2 separate regions of the Homo sapiens genome follow, and region 2 is linked to region 1. The links are contacts of gene promoters, found by promoter capture Hi-C in blood cells and fetal thymus (Javierre and others, 2016). All regions are on one chromosome and are shown on one strand. The core of a region is centred on a gene start or on the middle of the fragment in contact, and the rest is flanking DNA. Distances in the headings are between cores, read along the strand shown.

The links. The method cuts DNA at HindIII sites, captures the fragments that hold promoters and counts their contacts. A CHiCAGO score of 5 or more calls a contact.
Region 2: a contact is called between a fragment that was not itself captured here and the fragment with the promoter of BIRC3 in region 1, in 5 of 17 cell types (activated CD4 T cells, non-activated CD4 T cells, total CD4 T cells and 2 more). The highest score is 9.0, in activated CD4 T cells.

Annotation. Positions count from the first base shown.
Region 1 is chr11:102,313,108-102,318,793 of GRCh38, forward strand. It overlaps BIRC3 (baculoviral IAP repeat containing 3), which reads left to right and starts at 4,377. Exons shown (of 9, transcript NM_001165.5): 1 at 4,377-4,464. LOC124902739 (a long non-coding RNA gene) reads right to left here and starts at 4,136. Exons shown (of 2, transcript XR_007062864.1): 1 at 3,979-4,136; 2 at 2,788-3,465. It also overlaps the pseudogene RNU6-952P. RefSeq lists enhancers at 3,824-5,023, 3,928-3,997, 4,008-4,367, 5,169-5,368, 5,629-5,678. The HindIII fragment of the contact is 7,438 bases long and covers 1-5,686 here.
Region 2 is chr11:102,424,597-102,430,219 of GRCh38, forward strand. The region is part of intron 2 of TMEM123 (transmembrane protein 123); the gene reads right to left. Among named protein-coding and RNA genes, the nearest start is that of TMEM123, 25 kb to the right of the region's middle. RefSeq lists a silencer at 4,362-4,539 and enhancers at 5,164-5,223, 5,304-5,453. The HindIII fragment of the contact is 3,918 bases long and covers 1,996-5,623 here.

The DNA.
Region 1 (5,686 bases), core at 3,127-5,626:
TATTGAGAGCATACCGCTCTCAGGAATTGTCAGAGTTCTGAGCCAGGAATGGGATGAAAAACTCTGTCATTCATACCTTGCTCATACACTGACAGTAGAAAAAAACTGGAAAACCAAGAGGCCAAGTGTGGTGGCTCATGTCTATAATCCCAGCACTTTGGGAGGTCAAGGCAGATAGATGACTTGAGCCCAAGAGGCCAGCCAGGGCAACATCGCAAGGCTCTGTCTCTATAAAAAATACAAAAATTAGCCAAGCATGGTAGCCCGTGACTGTAGTCAGAACTACTCAGGAGGCTGAGATGGGAGGATTGATTGAGCCCAGTAGGTTGAGGTTATAGTGAGCTGAGATTGTGCCACCGCATTTCAGCCTGGGTGACATTTCAGCCTGAGAACAAGGCTCTGTCTCAAAAAAATAAAAATGAGAAAACAACAACAAAAAAACCACAAACAAACCTAGAAAACTGAAGATAGTAATGGCTATACAGTTTGTGTCTAGCTTTCACTTTCCTCAAAGGTTTCCTTGTGTATTTCTGTCGTGAAAAGAGTATTTGGAGCTTGGAATTCACTGGCTTGGAAGAAAATAAGAGTATTTGGAGAGAAAATATATTTAGGCTGTGCTTGCTTTGGCAGCACATATACTAAAATTGGAACCCTACCAAGAAGATTAGCATGCCCCCTGCACAAGGATAACAGCTGGATGTTGAAAGGAAAAGAGGAGTTTTTTTAATAAAGTATGTGAGATATACAAAGAGTTAGAAAGAAAATGCAAGGTAGGTTACACCATTAAAGATGTGGATGCAGGTTTAGAATAGAGAAAGCCCAAGTGGATAGTTTGGATAGATTGGCTCTATTTTTGTTAGTCAGTAAACAAAGGTTTACTGAGCACCTTTGAGCAGACACTCTACTAGTACTAGAATAATGCAGTGAACAAATATATACAGTGCTTGCCCATACACATTTATCTAGGGAAACCATTTTTTTTTTAATTGTGCAAAATGTTGCAAAGCAGACATGTTAATTTGCTTCCAACCTACTAGGCCTGACCCTAGCTCTCATGACCAGTTTGAAAAACGCGAGACTCAGTCAATTCAGGGATTTCTTAAGCCATGGTCTTTATTTATTTTTATTTATTTACTTTTTTGGCAATGGATTCTTGCTCTCTCTCCCAGGCTGGAGTGCAGTAGCGAGATCTCAGCTCACTGTAACCTCTGCCTCCCCGGGTTCAAGCAATTCTCCTGCCTCAGCCTCCCAAGTAGCTGGGATTACAGGCACCTGCCACCATGACCCGCTTATCTTTGTATTTTTAGTAGAAATGGGGTTTTGCCATGTTGACCAGGCTGGTCTCGAACTCCTGACCTCCGGTGATCCACACACCTCAGCCTCCCAAAGTGCTGGGATTACAGGTGTGAGCCAATGTGCCTGGCCAGCCATAGTTTTTAAACTGGGGTAAGTGTGCCCCTGGGTGTTTACAAAGACTTACCAACAGGGAGGTGGGAGCTCAAATAGTTTTAAGGAATTAATAGTCTCACTCTCAACTTCCATATGTAGCTTCTCCCAAAACTGATCTGCTTGAAAACAAGAACTGTGAAGGTTGCCAGGGTTGTTCTGTCTTCTCATCTCCCTTTTCACAATGGTTCTCTGTCTTCCCTTAAAAGACAGGCTCACCTCTCACCTATCATGAGTTTTAAAATCGTATATTTCTCTGGGTGTAGAAACCTCCTGGATGATTTGAAATAATCGATCTGTATTAGTGTTGAGAAAATGAATGACTCTAATATCTGGATATAGGGTTGCCAGGTAAAATACAGAACACCAAACTGAATCTAAATTTCAGATAACTAATGAATAACTTATTAGTATAGCTAGGTGCCAAATATTGCACAATACATTCTTATACTGGAAATGCATTCATTGTTTATATTAAACCAAAATTTAACTAGGTGTTCTCTGTTTTAATTTGCTAACTCTGTCAACTGTATCTGGATACCAAAAGTTCAGTGGTTTCTAAACCACCAATTTCAACAAAATTGAGTTGTCTACTGATAAGTAATTACATATTTTGATTAGAGATCACTAAATGATTTTTGGAATATAAAACATATTTTTTAAATTGTGAAAAAATTGCCATAATAATGTTTCTTCTGGGCCTATCTACTTATCTACTTACTTCTGTGAAATAAGGTTTACAACATTTATGTCTGTAGAAATGAAAAAAGGAACAGAATCTGTGCTGAACCCTAACATATTATAGCTATAGGTAATATTCATGACTGCACACTTGAAAAACTTGCTTAAAATACAAGCTGCCACCCCCTTAAATTGTATTTGTAATGCAGTTATTAACATTTACGATATTTTTATATTGTATTGACCAATTATGCTTTAAAAGTAATGAAAACAATATCAATGATAATGTAATCAAAGAGGATTTTTTTTTTTTTTTTTTGAGATGCAGTCTCACTCTGTTCCAGGGCTGGAGTGCAGTGGCACTGTCTTGACTCATTGCAACCTCTGCCTCCCAGGTTCAAGTGATTCTTGTGCCTCAGCCTCCCAAGTAGCTGGGACTACAGGCGTGCACCACCACACTTGGCTCATTTTTGTATTTTTGGGAGAGACCGGTTTCACCATGTTGGCCAGACTGGTCTTGAACTCCTGACCTCAGATGATCCACCCACCTTCGCCTCCCAAAGTGCTGGTATTATAGGCGTGAGCCACCATGCCTGGTCAAAGAGGAATTTTTTTTTTTTTTAACACTTAGATCCTTATGATCCCAGAGAAAAAAATAGATTTCAAGTTCTAATATGTATTTGTTTCAGAGATATGTGACAGAGAGATGATAAAAGATGTTCAGTACAAACATGTATTAACATTCTGTAGGGGAATTGGAATGTTCAATGACAAAAGGCAATGATAAAATATTTTCAGTTATTAAAGATGACCTGATAATTGCTTCATGGATGATCATGTATGTCAAATTACTATGGTATTAGGATCCATCAAATACATTTAAAAGAGTGCTCTATCAATTTTTTCTGAAAATATCTATGTTTACATTTTGTAGATTCTTGACATGTACAAGAGCTTTATGTTTTAATGTTAAGTTAAAAATGGGCAAGGGAATGCAGAGCTTTTCAAAATTCTTCTGGTGAGTACATAATCAAAAATGTGTAAGGCCTGCAAATTATTTTCAATAATCTCAGGAGTGAGTTGAAAATGGCTTAGAAAGTCTTGATTGAAGCAGACTCAAATGTGGATTAAAATCTCCATATGATAAATACACTTAGTCTTTCTGAAATAATTCCAACTGGAACTTCAGCTGCTATGGACAGCCAAGTCCACCTAAACAAGAGGATGCCTCAGCTCAGTCCAATTGCGTGCAGAATGCACTGGATGCTGTTTCCACAGAACGATGAAGTCTCCAATAATCTTTATGGGCTCTGTCTCTGGTTGGTAATTGTCTTTGATCTACTGGAAGATAGAAAATCAGATGAGCTCTCCAAATCCATCTGTTACCCTGGTACGGATGGCTCTCAGATAAAGTTGCTTAAATTTACTGCTTAGAGAACGTTGAGGGAAATATGGCAGTGCAATTAGACTCAAAGATGTCAGGTTTCCCTGAGAATGGCACTGCAACTCAGAAACCTGCCCTGTGAGATCAAAGGCTATAAAGGAGGGATTTTTTTAAGTAGCCAACTCCACCCTACTTATTAAAAAAAAAAAAAAAACAACTCACCAAACCAAACAAAAGTATTTCCATACAGAAAATTTACCAAGCCATTTCAATCTTTAAAATGGTAAAATAAACTGCAAAGGAGAACTGCATGATTTTTTTCACATACCCCTACATTTCCTTTCACCTCTTACTTTCTTGATCAGAACAAAAAGTAAAAATAAATAGAAATATTTCACAAAGTTTCGATTTTTTTTTTTTTAAATGCTGGACTTCTGCAGCTATAGTAGAAGATTGAAAAACCTAACCTTTTTACGTGTAAAGTGTATGGCGGATGGAGGGTGGAGAACAGGGCATATTGACCTTTTCCAGGCAGGCTAAGCAATGATCGTCCTCTCTATATGGGTTGTTATCAAGATTTCCTCTGACCCACGAGCAATGAAGCAAATGTCTTTCAGTAAATGCCGCGAAGATATGCCACGGTTAAGAGTCATGCTTTTGGGTCATGGAAATCCCCGAGTGGGTTTGCCAGGCCACTGATTAAGAGGAAGTGTGTGTGGTTATTACCGCTGGAGTTCCCCTAAGTCCTAAAAGGAAAGCACCAGTGCACATGCAAACCACTGGGAGGAGTGCGGAACGCCTGGTACAGATAGGGGTGGGGATTTGGGTGACGCATTTAAAAGACAGCGTGAGACTCGCGCCCTCCGGCACGGAAAAGGCCAGGCGACAGGTGTCGCTTGAAAAGACTGGGCTTGTCCTTGCTGGTGCATGCGTCGTCGGCCTCTGGGCAGCAGGTGGGCAAGGAAGGCTGGTGTGTGTGTGTGTGTGTGTGCGTGTGTGTGTGTGTATGTGTGCGCGCGCGCGCGCCTCCCCTGGTGTAAGAGATGTGCCAGCGGCTGGCCGAGGGGCGCTTAGGGCTAGAGCCCGGGGCGCTGCAGAGGTTGAGAGTCAGTGGGTGGGGCGCAGTTATCAAACACCAGGGCCCAAAAGCAGGCTCTAGATAGGTTCCAGGTGCTCAATTTCTATTTCACGTTTGGAGTGAGCCAGTGGAATTGTGAAGTTGTGGCATTTTGATTCGGTTGCCAAGAGTTATCACTGGGCCTTTGCAGGTGCCAAATAAATTTCAGGACAGAGCCTAAGGCAGAGCTCTGGCACAGGAAGGAAGTAAAACGTTTAATGAGCAAATGGACGCATGTTTCCAAGCGGTGGTAGGAAGACAGCAGTTTTTGGTTGTCTTCCTGGTGATCAGCATGGAAACCTAGTAGTGCTCTTACTCTGATCAATACATTGTCGAAGGCATGTACCTGATGCTAACGTAACAATAATATTAAATATTGACTTTATTTGCTATTATTTATTGCTAACATTAAGTACTGCTACCTGCTATGTGCTAGGTTTGTCTCTGAAGACTTTACATGTATTTTTCACGTTTAATTATCATAATCTTAAGAAGCAGGTACCATAATTATCTCCATTTGACAATGAGGAAACTGAGGCTCTTGGAGATTTACTTGTGCAAGGTCATGCTTCTGGTTACCGGACTGCTTGGTATTGGGCACCCCCGATGTCTGACTCCAAAGCCTGATACTAATCAATCACTGAGCTGACTCTGTGGTCATTAATATAAAATTGATAGAAGTACTGTGGTCACTCAGGTCTCAGTCATTTACTTCTTCAACGGGAAGTCTTCGTGTCTACCCCATATACCAAGCTCTGCAGATGCTATGAGTGGGAGGGCAGGTACAGAGATGAAACATATTAATAGTTGCCATTCTAAAAGAGCTTACTGTCTAGCGGGAGGCAGAAAGAAAAGGCACACTTGCCCTCCAGTGTCAGAAAAATGGATGTGCTGCATGCCCAAAGGGTAGGGATGCCCAACAGCCCTGGGACTGGGGAGGTTGCCTTCTTGGTAGGTTAAATGAATGAGTCAGAAGAGGAGAGGCTGGGGACTGAGCCAATCTGAGAAGGAACCACTAGAAATGAAAGAAGAATCCCAAGAGCTTGGTATCAGAGAAG
Region 2 (5,623 bases), core at 2,705-5,204, 110 kb after region 1:
GAGAATCGCTTGAACCCAGGAGGCGGAGTCTGCAATGAGCAAAGACTGCACCACTGCACTCCAGCCTGGGTGACAGAGCAAGACCTTGTCTCAAAAAAAAAAAGAAACTCAGTAAGCGAGGGGAGTCAGGGCACAGAAGACCCTGAGTTTCATTCTAAGAGTTCAAATTTGATTTATATAGATAAGACTATTTACCTGGCACAGAAAAGGGAGCGGGTCAAAGCTTGTAGATATGGGTCCTCAAGCCACTACAGCCAGAATGAATGTTCCCTCCAGAACACCCAATGCTGTACTGATTGCATGCTCACTGAGCAAGTTTTTCAGAAGCACACTCTTGGTCAAAGACAAAAATATGTTTTTATTTGGTGTTTCCAGGAAACACTAGAGGCAGAAAACCTGTTTGTTGAAAATACAGAAGCAAGAATGAAGAATATCCTAATTTGTATCCATTTCTATTCTCAAGATGATAGCATATGTGTCTAATATCTGTCAATCAAATACTTGTGATCTCCAAGCAGCACCCAGGAATATCAGAAAGAAACAGAGGCTTTTACGCCAACCAGTTCTGTGCTGAAATTGTGGCACAGTCATCTTCTGTGTAGCTCTTTTTTCATCTCTAAAATAGCTAAAATAACACTTAACTCATATGGTTATTGTATGGAATGTAAGAACAAGGATGAAACACCTTGAACAACAACGCTTGGCAACAGCATCATGCTCAACAGATGGTTACGGTCCACTGTTATGAACACGAGCAGTATCATTTTATAACAGGTTATGTGCAAATAATAAAGATGGTTGGCTTGGACCTTCTTTTGAGCATAGACCCATTTCCTTCCCCCTCACCACTGTTCATGTTGTGTCCTCCAATGATACTGATAAAAAGCATTGTCTGTTTTTCGTTTGTCCATCTATCAATGCCACATCCACTCAGACCTAGGTCAAGCACTGTTTCCTCCAGGATTGTTTTTTTTTTTTTCTTTTTTCTTTTTTTTTTTTTTTTTGAGGCAAGGTCTCACTCTGTTGCCCAGGCTAGAAGTGCAGTGGCATGGTTGCAGCTCACTGTAGCCTCAACCTCCCAGGCTCAGTTGATCCTCCCACTTCACCCACCCGAGAAGCTGAGGCTACAGGCATGTGCCACCACACCTAGCTAATTTTTGTATTTTTTGTGGAGACAGGTTTCCCCATGTTGTGCAGGCTGGTCTTAACTCCTGGAGTCAAGCAATCTGCCTCCCAAAGAGCTGGAATTACAGGCATGAGCCATTGTGCCCGGCCCTCGAGATTTTCCTAACTGAAAGTAAGCTCTCCCTCTTCTGAGTGCTCACTTACATTATCTGCACCTTTATTATTGTACTTAGCATACTGGCCTTTTACTATAGTTATTTTTGTTCTTATTAACTTTCCAATTAAATTTTAAGCACCTCATGGTGATATTTATGTCATGTCTCTGTAGCTCCCCCAGTACCTGGCACAGTGCCCAACACATAGAATGTACAAATGAACATTTGTTGAGTGGCTATAATGAAATATCAGTCTTAGGTAACAGAATTTCCTCTAAATATCAAAAGGAAGGTCAGCTGGATTTTGGCAGCTTTGCTTTTGAGTCTAAATAACCATAGTATCCTATCAGAACTCTTGACTTTGCCATTCCTGACCACTGTGTTTAGATCGTTCTTAACAATAATAACAGTTAACACATCCATAGCACTTATGTGCCAGGCACTGTTCTGAATGCTTACCTACATTAACTCATTTAATCCTCACAACAACTTTAGGAAGCAGTAATAGAAGGGAGCCGATGCAGACAGCACTTTTACGCCCGCATCACAATTCATTTCCCTCTATATTTATTATCTTTTTTTTTTTTTTTAAGTGATGGTGTCTCGCTCTGTCTCCCAGCCTGGAGTAGATGTGGGTCCTCAAGGAGAACTGCTTTGAGCTAACTAGTAGACTTACAAAGTGCTCATCGTAAAAGATTTTACAAACAAAACAAAAAGCTTAAAACCCTTGAGTGGAAAGTTATCTAAGAGCAATTTCTTTACAATAATTTTCCCTGCTTAAAGAGGCTGCTATGTAAGTTTTAGCTACTGCAAAGAAGTTAGAAAAATTACCTTTGACTTCAAAAAGTTTACAACCAAGTAAGGTATGCAAAGATCTTTGGTGTCCCTTTGTTGCTGCTGTTTAACAATGAAAGCAAATTTACTTACTAGAAGACAAAGATACAGATTGAATAAACTCATGGCTTAATGTTTTTAAAGTAGTTCCCCCCCCCCCCCCATTTATTGCTCAAAATCCACAACTGGCTATTCAGTTGATAAAAAGTTTTGTGTCTGGGTATATATATCAGTTATTTGAAGTTCTATAGTTGGGATATTGCCAAACCAAATTGAAGTTTTCTAACTATAAATGTATTACTGTCTATTACAGGAGAGAACTCTGAGATTAAGTTGCAGGGTTTTTTGTTTTGCGGGTTTTTTTTTTTTTGCTGGTTCTCTTTTTCACAATCTAGTCTGTGGCTGGAACACACTATACATATCTTTATCCTCCATATCTAGCTAGCTCACTGACAAACATTGTTGTTCAAACACAGTTGGCTTTTGTTTAGTTTCTTAAACAATACATGCCTTTTAATATCAAATGGCACCATGCAATCCTACCACACTTACATGAACTCGATCAGTCTTCAGTCTTAACTTGTTCCTTGAGCTTTTTGTTGACTGAATTTCACAAAAGAGGACCCAGGTCTCTGCTGAAGTAGCACATGCCCAAGGACTATGAGGAACAAGGGGAGAAGGCAGAAGTGGAAGAGAAGGCAGAAGTGGGAGAGAAGAAATAGGGAGGGTATAAATTCTTTTTTTTTTTTTTTTTTGGAGACAGAGTCTCACTCTGTCGCCCAGGCTGGAGTGCAGTGGCACAATCTCAGCTCACTGCAACAGGGAGGCTATAAATTCTACGGAAATGGCTGGGTGCGGTGGCTGATGTCTGTAATCCCAGCACTTCGGGAGGCTGAGGCAGGTGGATCACGAGGTCAGCATTTCGAGACCAGCCTGGCCAATACGGTGAAACCCTGTCTCTACTAAAAAACACACAAATTAGCCAGGCGTGGTGGTACACACCTGTAGTCCCAGCTACTAGGGAGGCTGAGGCAGGAGAATCACTGGAACCCGGGAGGCAGAGGTTGCAGTGAGCCGAGATCGCGCCACTGCACTCCAGCCTGGGCAACAGAGCAAGACTCTGTTTCAATTAAAAAAAAAAAAATTCTACAGAAATAGAATGAAAATGTAAACATTCTACCAGTTCATTTAGGAAGACAAAGAATATTTACTCTGAGATTCAGAAAAGAATATACATATCTTATAAAAATTATCACAATAATCTTCTGGCAAGACACTCTTCCTCAATGAGGATATAAACTTGCTGGAAGGAAAAATGAGATGCTGATAAAAAAAAGTGATTTAACCAGGCCATGCATGGAGTCTAGAGAGGTCTGAATTGTCCCTTCCTCACCCTTCCTGGGAGTGTGAGTCTATCGTTATTTACTATTAGCTAAGAAGAAAAAAACAAGAGTACATTAATTTAAAAGGTTTTTCTTAGTTTAGGATGTTGATATTTCAGATCTAACTTCAATTTTTTATCCTGAATATATTATTACGTTACTACTGCAATATAATCTTAACCTATATTCTTCACAATTTAAAAAAAGTCATTTTATTTTATTTTTTTGAGATGGAGTCTCACTCTGTCACCCAGGCTGGAGTACAGTGGCACAATCTCAGCTCACTGCAACCTCCACCTCCAGGGTTTAAGCAATTCTCCTGCCTCAGCCTCCCAAGTAGCTGGGATTACAGGTGCCTGCCACCACACCCAGCTTTTTTTTTTTTTTATTTTTTAGTAGAGACGGGGTTTTGCCATGTTGGCCAGGCTGCTCTCGAACTCCTGACCCCAGGTGATCCACCCAGCTTGGCCTCGCAAAGTGCTGGGATTACAGGTGTAAGCCAGTGTGCCCGGCCCCCCCAAAAAAAAAAAGTCATTTTAAAGAAGTGTTTTTTCCCCTAGATTACTTTATCCCATATCACAAATTAAATGGCCATCTGGACAATTACTTTATAAAGCTAACTGAAAAAGATATTCTGAGATCCTCAGGAAATGATCCATCTCCAATTTAAGTGGTACATTTTTGCTGCAGCTCATCAAGAATAGGCTATAACTCTGACAAGAGCAGATGTTTCTGAAGAGAAAGGAGACTAGTAACTACTGGCCACCAAGTCTGGCCAGGGAAAATCATTACCACTGACTGTGGCTATGTGGCCAGTAGAATGAACATCTGTTCTTTTTTCCCTGCCCAGCTCCTGTTCCACTCTTCCTTCAGGCAAACACCCTTCGCTCACCCCCTGGGGTCTGGAGGGACTACGAGTGGGTAGGCACGAGATTCAAACCAGGTCAATCAGCCTCTCGCAGGAGTCTGAAATGTGAGTAGAATACACCAGGATGGACAACAGTTAACACAGTCATTTTGATGGCAGCCTCCTCAGGAGATTTGTTAATTCCTGTCCCTGAAATCCCTAGCCACACTAGATCTAGTTCAGTTTTCTTCTTTAGGTTTTGTGAATGTTGGACAGCAGGTGTCCAACAAGTCCTTGTTTATCTAAGTTAGTTATAGAAAATTTCTACTGCTTGCAACCAAATGATTTTAACAATATGAAATTTAAATCTGGGATGATGTCTACTTTCTTCCTGCTCTTTTCTCTTCTTCATAATCACGCTTACGGTTCCTCTTCAGTTTTTTTCCTCCTTTACAACAGAATGCACTTTTCAACTCATGTCAGCAAAAACATTACATGAGACTACTGAAAGGCAAGTTTTGGCGTACAAAATGAAGTTTCTAAAATGAGACTTTCCTCTTTGAGAAGGTCTTTGGCACTCTGCTAACCTTTGACTCTTGCCTTGAGAAAACATTTCCTTACAATTAACAAACATAAAAGCATGAATGCCTGTGTGTGTGCTGCAATGTGACTCTACTTACACCAAACCAACAAGACTATTTTCAGTGCAAAAGTAAACTCCTGACAATCATAGCATTCTACCAAGCAAATGTTTGACATCTTATACATAGCATCTTGTACTGTAAACTATTATAGGCTTCAGATGTAGCCAGACTCACTGCAATCAAATCCAAACTCCCTGAGGGACTTCAGCAACACTGCTCCACCATCACTAAAGCCTCACAACACCGCTTTCCTGTGTCACTTTTATTACCCTCTTTTATGTCAGCAGAAGCACAGATGCTCCTGCCTTGCCAAAAGCCACAGGGCCTGAACAACCCGAGCATCTCCAGAAGCAGCCTGTGCGATGGGAGCACCACACAGCAGGAAGACTGGTGGCAAGCATGGCCCTTCGTAGGGGCAGAGGCCTCTCTGATCTTCCAAATTGCTCTGTCCATCCCCTTCCCCATGCCACCTCTCCCAGCCAGCATGAGTACCTTTTCTGGATGGGCTTCATCTTTATGGAAACAAAGAGGCAAAGAACAGAGTTGCCCGGGACCACAGAAGACAACTGTGGCAATTCTCCCCTGTTAAGTGAGAAGACCAGAGTGCAGGTGGTGATTTGTTTTGACCAAGGGGCT